3 separate regions of the Homo sapiens genome follow, and regions 2 and 3 are each linked to region 1. The links are contacts of gene promoters, found by promoter capture Hi-C in blood cells and fetal thymus (Javierre and others, 2016). All regions are on one chromosome and are shown on one strand. The core of a region is centred on a gene start or on the middle of the fragment in contact, and the rest is flanking DNA. Distances in the headings are between cores, read along the strand shown.

Region 1 (4,001 bases), core at 607-3,106:
ATTTTTCAGATTAGAAAAGAAGGGAGAGAATCGGCAGTTTAATATTCACGTCTATTAAGCCATGCAAGCAGTTGCCGAGTAGCAGTCCATTCTAGGGTAAACAGGCAATGCTCTCTGGTCAAATATAGGTTCTATGTTAATGAATGAAATATATAAAACAGGACACTTATTTGTTCTCCCATATAAAAGAAGTCCTGCAAAGTCCTGGATGACAGAACTTAATGTATGCTTTATTGTAATCCTTTTTCTAGTCTATCTTCTTTTCTAAACTGTAAACAATCGCAGCAATTTAGTTCAGCTAAAAAATGAGCTATACAGTTTCACATTTGAACTTATTAAGTTTTCAATGGGCCAGTGAAAAACGTCCCCCCTATTTTTTTTTTAACTGCTTCCCCTATTTAAATGCTCAGCATAAGAACCCTGGTCCTATACAATTTATCCAAAGCTTGGGCAGCCCGAGAGCCCTTTTATCCCTCACTAGTGAATCAGTTCTATTGTAGGAGAGAGACATTCTTTCCTCCCCTTTTCGCTTAAAAAACATAACAAACCTGAATAGACTCCAGGCTAGAGTAGTGGAGAGAGTGATTTTTATTAGATCTAACATAGTTATTGGCAAATGCCTAAAGACAATATTTAAAAAGAGAGCTAGAGAAAGAAAAGGCTTTCACTTTATGCCTTAAAGGACAGATTGGTTACAATTTAACATCTAAGAGGAAAAATTTATAGAATTAAATGGCCTAACATTCCTCTTTCTTCAACATACATATGAGAAATCTAAGCTAAGAGGACATCTGGAATGGAACGTTATTCAGCAATCAGAAAGCAAAAATTCAAACCATTGATGTTTTGATGGAGACAAACACAACTAGATTCACAAAGAGGAAAGCTGCAACCTATTGAAGTTAAAAAAAATTCCATATGCATTTTACCTTTTGGGCAGTTCTATTTCAGAAGCCCTTTGTAATATGAAACCCACTGTAGATAAGATACAACATGAAGATAGTCTGTTTTGCAGCAGCAGGAAATCAAATTGGTTCCAGAAACGAAGTTATATGACAAATGGTTTAATAGTATTGCTAGAATTGGAAATCTTGATTGAATTATTTTTAAATCATTAAAAAAAAGATTTTGAAATAACTTTGCCATGCTGTATAAATTGGTGATGGTGGTAGGGGGTCCACACAGGGAGTGTTGCTGAGGTTAGGAGGCATCTCATTTTATTGGCCTTTTAACTAAAGCATTATAATCTGTTATCAAAATTTAAAAGTTCAGTGGTGATTTACTGTTAATTCTGGTTTGCAACAAATATTTTCAGACAAACACGATACTTGAATTAACATAGCTAATATGTGTTGTGGAGTATTAAACAGGTTAACAAATATTGATATATTCTAGTATCATTTCCAAATTATTTTTAGGTTTAATCTCAACACCAGTCAGCTTTGCTTTACTTAAAAAGCATCAGAAAAAGTTCATTAAGTCTTAGGCAGGTCTTGGATTGTAGAAGAGACTTCTAAGTAGTTAGCAAGATGTATCACTGACAGAATAACCCAGTGCCTAATGCCTGTAGGTGAAATGAAATCGTTCTTCTGGCTGAAGTCAGGAACAAGTTAAAATATCACTTAGAACACAGCATACGACTGCAGAGATTTAGGAGAAATCTTACTTAAATAGGATGTGACTTGACGTTTAGGACTATTTTCTAAAAAGTCAAAAAACTTTTCCCCCTTCAGTACTTACAGTCTTTGAAGACTAGAGCCGGATCTCTGTGAGGCAAGACTTGGGCAATGATGTGTCTCAGAGATTCCAAGGTTCTGTCCATCTTGGGTCTGCCTGTGTGAGCCTCCTGTACAGAGTGTCCTCATGCCTGAATTCTTGCAGTCCTGGGCTGAATTTCTGCAGCTCATTGATGCACTGGATTACCAAGGAATCCCTTTTAACATCTGCCAATCAGACATTTCCCAGAATCTAAAGACCCCTCAGGGGGCCCTCTTCCCAGGCTCACTTATCTTTGTTGTATGCTGAGCTAATTAGCTCGAAAGGCTGGCTGACAGGCGGGTTCCCATTGCTTTCTTCTGTTAAACACACCCACCTACAGGCTAGCTGGGGAAGCTCGCTAAATTATGAAAACAGCTTTCCTCTCCAACCAGATTTTGTCTGAATGCTGTGCAGCTTTCTGACTTGAGTATTTCTTCTGGCCCTCCATCTTCAATTGTGTTGCCCCCAGGAATATGGAATCAGGAAGGTTATTTCTCCAGGAAATTTCCTGAATGACAAGACAGCTTCCAGCTCAGGACTGCCAGCTATATGTTAACAGTATAATCCCTATAAATCTAAATTTTCAGTGTAATTCTTCTTTGGTAAAGGAGTGCTATAAAGATTATGGGGCTGGGTGCAGTTTATCATGCCTGTAATTCCAGCACTTTGGGAGGCTGAGGCGGGCAGATCGCTTGAGCCCAAGAGTTCCAGACCAGCCTGGGCAACATGGCGAAACCCTAACTCTACAAAAAATACAAAAATTAGCTGGGTGTGGTGGTGCATGCCTGTGATCCCAGCTACTTGGAGGGCTAAGGCAGGAGGATGGTTTGAGCCTGGAAAGTCGAGGCTGCAGTGAGCCCAGATTGTGCCACTGCACTCCAGCCTTGGTGACAAAGTAAGACCCTGTCTCAATTTTTTAAAAAAATCTTTCAATAACTACCTTAAGAAACATATATGTATTTTCTCGTCCTGTTTCTTTGTTTTATTTTTCTTTTTAATAGGGTCTCATACTGTCCTCCAGGCTGGAGTGCAGTGGCGTGATCATAACTCACCGCAGCCTTGACTCAAGTGAGGGGCTTGAGCCCTGGACTCAAGCAATCTTCCCATCTCAGCACCCCAAGTAGTTGGGAGGCACACGCCACCACGCCTGGCTAATTTTTAAATTTTCTGTAGAGATGGGGTCTCACTGTGTTGCCCAGGCTGGTCTCAAACTCCTGGGCTCAAGCAATCATCCTGTCTGGGCCCCCAAAGTGCTGCGATTACAGGCGTGAGCCACTGCACCCTGCCCTGAAATTTTTAATAATTATTAAGTGAAAGGAAGTGAATTACATCAGAATTAATTAAAGTCAACCTTGGGAATGATTCACTTTGAAGGGTAAATAGGGAAACAAATGTTCCCAGGCAAGCTGTAAGACAGTCTGTCAGGTTTTACTTGCCCCTGCCCAATAGAAGTGACTAAAATTTGGGAGGGTTGTGGGGGGTAACAAGCCTTGGCTTCCAGAAGAGTGGCTCCTGAATTCAAATGCAAGGCTTAATTTAGTCCCTAGCTGTATCCTTTTTTTTTTTTTTTTTTGAGACAGAGTCTCACTTTGTCATGCAGGCTGGAGTGCAATGGCATGATCCGGGCTCACTGCAGCCTTGACTTCTCAGTCTCAAACGGTCCTCCCACCTTAGGCTTTCTAGTAGCTGGGACCACAGGCCCACGCCACCGCACCTGGCTAATTTGTGTATTTTTAGTAGAGAGGGGGTTTCACCATGTTGCCCAGGGTGGTCTCAAACTCCTGGCCTCAAGTGATCCACCCATCTCGGCCTACCAAAGTGCTAGAATTACAGGCATGAGCCACCATGCCTGGCCTTTAAAGATCTTAAGAAAACAGAAATTCTTTTTCTACCTATTCATGATCTATACTACCTGTAACACTTTGTTAAATAATCTTTCCATAGAAGACATAAATATAAGTCACAGGATTCCTTTTCCATAATAAGGATTTATACCAGATATAAAATAACTAATTTTAGTGGTTGTAACCAATGTTACTTGTTGAAGGAGGTTGTTGAGGATTGTCAAACTTTTATTTAAAATATTTTTCCAGGGTAGCCACAAAGATTGCTTTCCAGTGTTTCTTCCAATTTTCAGATTCCATAACTAGGTTGTATTTTATGATGAACTGAAAGTAGACCTTTAAAGACTGTATAAAAATGAAATACCTTCCATGTGATCAGCTTCTTCAGCTAGTTTGTAG
Region 2 (4,001 bases), core at 394-2,893, 290 kb before region 1:
CAGCAAGCCGTCTGACAGCTGAGAAGAGCAGCAAAGAAACTTAGAGCAGTTCTGTCATGTGGAGAGAGGGGCAAATAGCCCCCAACCCCAAAAAGCGTGGTAATTAAGGCATTCACTCATTCACTCATTCATTCAACAAACTTACTCTGTGGGAAAAGCTTAAACTTGATTCACTTCTAAACACCCACTTCTATTATTTTTACATTTTATTATGATTTAAATGTTATTATTAAAAAATGTTTTGGCCTTATATACTCAGGATCATGAAATCTGGCAGAAATGACATAGATAAAATATTGTTTTTATGAGAAAGGATGCTAACATGGACAAATGCTGAGTGTGGACAGATCCGTGTCTCCAACCTCTCCCATCTGTGTGTAATATTCAGTGCCCTCCCCACCTCCAGGTAGTACAGAAACCCTGATGTCTCCATCAGCAGGTGGCTTTGGGCCTCAAAGTAGAAGTCAGACATAGAAAAGAAAATTTAAATACAATTTTTACACATCTAGGTTTCTAGCCTAGGAAAGTACGTTCTTAGGTTTGATTTGAAAGAAATGTTTTTAAAAATTCCATTCCCCACATTTTCTAGTTAAAATTTAAGGGCAGGATATAGTCTCCCTATTTAACAATAACAAAAATGGTATAATTTTCCATAAATTTAGTACTTTCCTACTTTTGAAAGAACAAGATTTTAGATGCGAAGTCCTATATTCAAGGCTGACAATTAAAATAGACTTTTCAAAAAATCATTTTAAAATCCCGTAGTTTTAAATTTAGCTTTACAATGTTCAGATGGTAATGTGAATAGAAATGGTGACTCAATTACTTTTCAAATGAAGTACGTTGATGAATATATTCATTTTCTCTTGGCAGGGAATTATTATTGCCTTAAATTTAATCTTACTTCTGCACATGCTACAGGAATTTTCATGGCTAAACTGTTTTAAATTAACTTATGATTCATCCACCATGAAAAATGAGTGTACTCTACCCACAATGAGGCAAAGTGACAAGTAGACTGTAGACGACTTTAAATTTGATTTTCTCAGACATTTTATTAAAACCCTTCTCTTGGGTTGCTAGAAATCATGCCCCTGGATTCACTCCAGGGGCAGGCTTGGGAGACTGGACTGAGCTGGCAGGACATGCACTTGTCCATTTATTCAACAAATGCAGAATTAGGCACATAAGGGATCAAGGCCAGAGACTCTGCTAAAACAGAAAGAATAAATGAGCCTTTAGGTCCAAAAACCTACTGACAAAGGAATAGCCAAACTTTATTCTCTAAAGATAATATTGTAGCCCCTGATCCCAGGGGAGAGGTTGTTTGCTCTCTGCCCCAGTTTGAAGCAACCTGAGGGCAGAAGAAGGAAAGAACAGGATCTAGACTATAGTGGAAAGAGATGAGAAGTCTGCAGGTAAATCTAATTCTATGATTCCAGGACAGAGAGGCCAAACCTGCCTTAGGTACACTACCGACTTCAAAAGCATTATTCCAAAAGTCAATATCAATGCCTTATATACTTATCTCTAGTTAGAAGTGTGTACAGATGAACAAATGTCTAGAACTGGGAGATATAAAAGCAGCTCTTAGGTAAGAGGACAGCTACAATCAACTTAATTTGGCTCAATGAACTCATCTTCTCCCAGGAAGGGTTTTATGATGTGTATTTATTCACATCATAGAATAGGGAACAAACTTAAAAAGGCAAAACTCATTTTGCACACAGGCCAGTGGCAGATGAGAATTTGGAACTCACAGTGAACTGTGGCTTTGGAAAGATCACCCACTTCATGTAGTATTTTAAATGTGTTTTGTGAGCGAGTACCTAAGGTAGTAGAAGACACAGTTACAAGTATGATCAATCAACCTTAGGCTATTTAAAAGTTCTAAAAAAAAAAAAAGAAGCATGAGGACTTTTCTGCACCTTAGAAAAGTGAACAAAATAATACATGCTCTTAACAGTGATAGCAATTGCATTTGTGCCCACAGAGGAAGAAACATTCATTTATAAAGGACAGGTAAAAGATGGGTTTTGAAAGATGTCACCTCAGTGAAAGAAATCTGTGAATGCAGCCATTTCTGACTTTGTTCTGAGTCAAATAACCTTGTTCTAACCATTGCCTTCCCTCCCAAATCTTGAATAAACACAAACACACACACACACAGCTATGTTATCGAGCTAATTACTTTAGTTTCCTTATCTATAAAATATGGATAATAGTATCAACCTCCTAAATCTCTTATGAGAATCAAATGAGATGATCATGCAAAGACACCACTTAGCAGTGTCTATCTGGCAAATGTCATTATGAGACTGCAGTCAATGTTGCAAATTAGTACTATGTTTATGATTCAATAGATACCTCAAGTATGTAAACATACTTGAACTGGTCTGCAGTCCATAATTTAACTTGGATGTATAAATGAATCACTTTGAGCAGGTCTATGCACTCAAATCATTGAAGGCCAATGTGAAAAAACAAACAAACAACAAAAAAAAAACCTCTGAGCACTCTTAATTTTTATTTTTGTCTTATTTGTTCAAATGCCAAGTATAGGCATCTTACAATGATACCATGTGTGTCCCCAGAAAACTTCACATTTTGGAAAAATTGCACACTAAAAATAATAGGGTCTTTGGGAAAAATGCATTAATAATAAGATATTTAAATCCAATACAGGTTTGAAATCAAGACTCTAACACAAACAGTTAGAATCCTAATAAGAAATTATGCTATTATGGTTCAATTTCCATGGGCATTTGCCATAAAATTTCAGTCATTCCAACCCTTGTGGCCTTTTACCATGGAGTCATGCTTTATTTTTCTTTTAAAATGAATGTCCTTGAAACAGTCACTTCTATAGAAAGAAGTTTAACCAAAACTTAAAATACTATCCAAGGGTAGCCTTTTTAATCATTAATTTTCTTTTTAACATGAGAGAAATATCTTCAGGCTTCATCTTTTCTTGAAACTCCCCAAAGAGCTTAACATATAGAAAATCTAGCAGTTTTTCAAACCACTAAATAAGTCACATTTTACACAAATGAAAGGCATTTCTGCAGATTATATAGGTTTTATCTTAAAGTCTTAATATATTATGAAGTTTTTTCTCTATTAGTAAGAAAGCTTGACTATAATGGGTTTAAAACATTAGCATGTTGGGGGAAATTGCATAAACCCACATAACTTCCACTGACCTCAGCCTCCTCTTTACCAGTCATGGTAGAGATAATTAACATTAAAGAAACACATTATGGGAGAACAGACTATGATTGCATCATTATTATAATGACAACAAATGTAACCCTTATTTCCTATTAAAAAACACTTTCGATTAATGATAAGGAATGTTCTAAAAGACTAGATTGTTGCAGAGTTGAATAAATATCCATGAAATTGAGCTCTAAGAATGTAAACAGAGATTCTGTTGAAACTACTTTCACAGGATACATTGTCTATATCTCACACTGGAGACAATTTTGTAGCAGAAAAACTTTGGAGAAAAGAAAAAAAACCCAGGTGGGTGGGCAGCAGTGGAACCAGATGAACATTCTCTGTGGAGCTTCACCAGCGATTGCATAGAACTCTGTGATTTTACAGTGAAGACTGTCTGTTCCTTTCCATGACTTACAGAAACCAGGAACTTTGCTCCAAAGAAAAGGGCGATGGCATTTTGAAAACTAGCTAACCGTCAGAGGCAATTGCAGCGGAACTTTGGCCACCGTTGGATCATTTCCACTTCTCTCCCACTTACTTGACAGCCTGAGTCATTTTTAGATCTGATTTCACAGTCAAGAGTGAATCTGAGTCCCAAGACATCTCCCTGTTGGTCTTGTAGGTAAAAGGGAATAGAAAGATGTAGGAGAAGGGAATTTTCAGTTCTCAAATAATTTATGCAAGTATATACACACATACACATGCACACACATATGTGTATGTGTGAGCCTTGTTAACTGCAATGTTGGGAATGACTGTGTGTGGCCACGACCAAATTG
Region 3 (4,001 bases), core at 462-2,961, 270 kb before region 1:
ATACAGATTTCTAGACGTCACCCCGAGTTTCCAATTAATTCCATTTGGGAAAGACTGAGAATTTGCATTTCTAACAAATGTTCAGTATGCTGCTGATGCTGTTGGAGGGGCAAGGCATACTCTGAGAATCACTGCCCTAGGCTCTACTAATGCATAGTTATTCAAGCATTCAAATTAGATTTAGTAATGGTATCATAAAAATTCTCACCCCCAGTCCTCAACTTCATATATCGAAATCCAAGCCTACCTATAAATCTGATTATCTTAAGTCTGGGTTGTATACTCGTAGAATGTTATTGCTTTTTGGATTGTGTGATTTGCCTCAAGATGTGTGTTTGCACAGTGTTAGCTCTACAACACAGGAGTCTCTGCAGTTACACTTGTTACCACTAGATGAAGCTCCTGCTGCTTTTGCTTTCTTCGCTCAAGAGAACTTGTTGGTTGGCTACTAGATGACACTGATTGTAATTTAAAATGCATAGCTAGGGTTACACAGAGTTGCTTTGCTCTGAAGATAGAGTGACCTGTCTTATTAGTCAATAAAATTCAGAAAGCTAGGTGGTAAACTGTACATCATGGCCTGAAGGCTGTAATCCATAACTTCTCTAGTTGATAACTGCTTATTTAAAAGTATGTACCCATCACCCTCTACCCTCCACTGACTAGTTTTATACCAAGTGTTGGCTTCAGAGAGGTACAAACAGAGGACACTCATGAAAAGAAGAAGACTCTATTTACTCCTGGATGAAAGTTGAGAATTAGCTTACTCAACATATTTCCAAAGTACAACCATGAGCCCACTCATATTTATTTAGTTTACAGATTTATTAGAAAATAACAGGTAGATTCAGGATTTTTATAGAAAAGGATGGTAGAAGGAGCAATCTGTCTGGAACAAAGGGCTTGGGGTTTTTTGCTGTATTCAAATATCAAAAAACATTGTCAAATGGCTCTGGAGAGTTAGGAAGACAGCTGAAGGAAACGAAGAGTGTTGAATTAGGGAAGCCTAAACATAAGTCTAGTGAAAACTCCTCAATAATCTGACCATGAAGACTGTGGAGCTATTGTAAGGTGATCAGACATCTATCCACATTGAAATGGTTCGGAGAAGAGGATGGGTGCCCAGGCAAAAGGCCCAGAAAAACCTTTTTGGAGGCTTAGGGAAATCTGCAAGTGGGACAGGGATGGGGGAGGGTGCTGCCTTTTGCTGTAATGGCACAGTATGTAATTGGACCAACCCTCCCACTGAAGACAATTGTAAACACAGACAAAATAGAAAAAGATCTTTAAAGCATAAAAGTCTAAAAAGATAGTGAAGAATTACTAAGCTAAGATTCTAGAAAAGTTGGAAACCCAAAGAGGTGAACGAGGGATTCCAGAAATTCCCCAGGGGCATTTGCAGATTTGGAAGAGGAAACCAAGAGGCAGACTAAGCTTTTGATAGTAGGACCAGGGGCTGCAAAATCTGAGAGCTGCTGAGAGTAATGAGAAAGGCAGTCTCTGACAGCCAGGAGCTGAATGGGCACTCACAGCCAGACCTCAGTGTTCTCCTGTTGAACACAAACAATTTCATGGAATATGAACATCAGACACAACCACTCTTGTGACTCTGATGGATCAAGACAAACACAAGCCAACTCCATAATCATGTCTGAACACAGGCAAACATGAACGTTGTCCAAACCACAAAAATGACCAAACATCTTCAGGTCCTGGCTAATATGAATGACTGCTGTTTCTTCACCAATTTCAGCCTTAGCCTTTGTCTAATCTCTTAATAAGATACGAAATCATAGAATCACCCCCACTTTCTTAGAACATTTAAACCAAAACGAAGCCCTGCCCCATGAAACTCTCATGCAAATCACCTATAACATCCCATAATGACCCCTTTCTGACACTCTCTTTCTGAGATGCCCCAGGGCTCCCCAGGGTGTTTTCCCTTGATGTAGTGAGTTAATAAACCCAGTTGGTTCAAAAATCACCACCAAGCTTTTTGCCTAGTTGGGTGGTGGATTTTTCTTTTATTACTATGCTATTGAGTTTTGTGCTGGAACACAGATAAGTTACTTGAGAAGTTTCATCCTTTTGGATCCTGCTTTTAAGATTTGTTAGGCAGGACCAGAGCAGAGACTTATCTGCTCCCCACTACTGAGGTAAGACACTTTAGCACACTCTACCCATTGGCCCATTCATCTTGAGGTTCTCCAGTTTGATGGGTAGGCACAAGCACTACTTCTGTCTCTGTGCAAGCACCAGGCTTTGTTCCCACTAATCCTTTTCAGTGGTTCAGTTTCTGGCAACGTTTATTTTCTGCTCATGTGCATATTGATCATTGATCAGCAGAATACTCCAGGAAAATCCTCAGCAGGTTTCCAAAGCCTGCCCTCCCACACACCGTTCGTCTCTTTCTGCAGCTCTCTCCTCTTTGGTATTCATCCTATGAACTCTGGTTTCCTTGCTCTCCCAGAATCTCATCTGCATCTCCTCAACTCAAAGAATCTGCTGGGCTCTGCCTTAGTTCTGTCTCCCTGCAAAGCAGCCTGGAACCTCTCTCAAGGCAGAAAGCTGGGAAAATCACAGAGCTTGCCTATTTGTTTCCTTCTCTCCAGGGATTGCTGTCTTGGGTTGCCTGATATTCATTGTCTTGTAAACTGTCTTTTGTTCATCTTTTTTTGGTTGTTTTAAGCAGGAGAATAAATCAGAGTCCCTACTCTATCTTGGCCAGAAGCAAAAGTTTTTTTAGATCTTTTAGTTAAATTTTTAAGTAGGGGAGAAGCCAAAACATTACTGATTTGGTTTAATCAGTTGGTTTTAATCGGTTGGTTGAAAGCATGCAAATTTACTTTCAAAATATTTAACAAGCTCAGAATCACCCTGGTTTATTTTGCCATCATTTTTCCTGTTTGAGAATGTGTCATCAGTTATTTAAATAATCTGTAATTGGAAAGAAAATAACAGAGGCACCAGCATTTTTCATTTGGCTACTAAATAAAAATTTTTAATGCTGTAAAATAGCAGTTGTTCAATGTCAAGTTTGTCTAATATTCTGTTCCACTTTAACAACATCAGATTTTTATGGCGGCATTTTTCTGTTTTTGTTTTCAGTAAGTGCTTTGTGGAAGGCATTGCAAAAGATAACCATTTTTGAAAAACCATCTTCCTGTCAGTTACTGATTTAAAATTCTGAGAATACATGTTTTCATTTTCTGTTACAACTGAATGAGTTTAAAAGAAGCTATAGATTGCATTTACTAGGTGAATTTCCCCTCCCTACCCCCATTTCTCATATTTTGCATAAGGCTCTGAGTCTTTATACTAACATAAACTTTCACTGATTTTCTTTAAATTAAAAATTTTAAGCCCATAATATAGACTCTGTCTCTATTTTGTCTGAAAAAGAACATAGGCATAACAATAATTCTTAGAAGTATTTTTAATAGATTTATAGAGATCCTTTTGAAAAATAAAATGGAAGTCAGAGAAAAGGAAGCTACTTTTTAAACTATAAGTTGGCTTCAGAGTTACAAGCATCTAGCACTGTCAGGGAGCCATTCGTCATTTTATTCATTCTGTATCTCCCCACTGCAGAGGTTGCAGTGAGCCGAGATCACATCACTGTACTGCAGCCTGGGTGACCGAATGAGACCCTGTCTCAAAAAAAAAAAAAAAAAGGAAGAAAGGCCAAGGCAGGTGGATCACTTGAGCTCAGGAGTTCGAAATCAACCTGGGAAACATGGTGAAAACCCATATCTACAAAAAATTAAAAAATTAGCCAAGTGTGGTAGTGCACACCTGTAGCCCCAGCTACTTGGATGGCTGAAACAAGAGAATCGCTTGAGCCCAGGAGGTTGAGGCTCCAATAAGCTGTAATTGTGCCACTGCATTACAGCCTGGGCAACAGAGCAAGACTCTGTCCCAAAAAACAAAAAATAAGAATAAAAGTAACTGATGCAGGTAAAGAAATTTAAAGTTTACAAAACATTTATGAATTGTCTTTC

The links. Contacts are between HindIII fragments. The CHiCAGO score rates a contact against its expected background, and 5 or more counts as called.
Region 2: a contact is called between a fragment that was not itself captured here and the fragment with the promoter of LIX1 in region 1, in 14 of 17 cell types (total B cells, naive B cells, fetal thymus and 11 more). The highest score is 10.5, in total B cells.
Region 3: a contact is called between a fragment that was not itself captured here and the fragment with the promoter of LIX1 in region 1, in 10 of 17 cell types (megakaryocytes, naive CD4 T cells, naive CD8 T cells and 7 more). The highest score is 8.2, in megakaryocytes.

What each region holds. Positions count from the first base shown.
Region 1 is chr5:97,140,755-97,144,755 of GRCh38, forward strand. It overlaps LIX1 (limb and CNS expressed 1), which reads right to left and starts at 1,857. Exons shown (of 6, transcript NM_153234.5): 1 at 1,741-1,857. The coding sequence starts at 1,822. RefSeq lists an enhancer at 1,804-1,873. The HindIII fragment of the contact is 8,667 bases long and covers 444-4,001 here.
Region 2 is chr5:96,851,959-96,855,959 of GRCh38, forward strand. It overlaps a transcript of ERAP1 not described here. Among named protein-coding and RNA genes, the nearest start is that of ERAP2, 23 kb to the right of the region's middle. The HindIII fragment of the contact is 2,974 bases long and covers 157-3,130 here.
Region 3 is chr5:96,868,679-96,872,679 of GRCh38, forward strand. It overlaps a transcript of ERAP1 not described here. Among named protein-coding and RNA genes, the nearest start is that of ERAP2, 5.8 kb to the right of the region's middle. The HindIII fragment of the contact is 558 bases long and covers 1,433-1,990 here.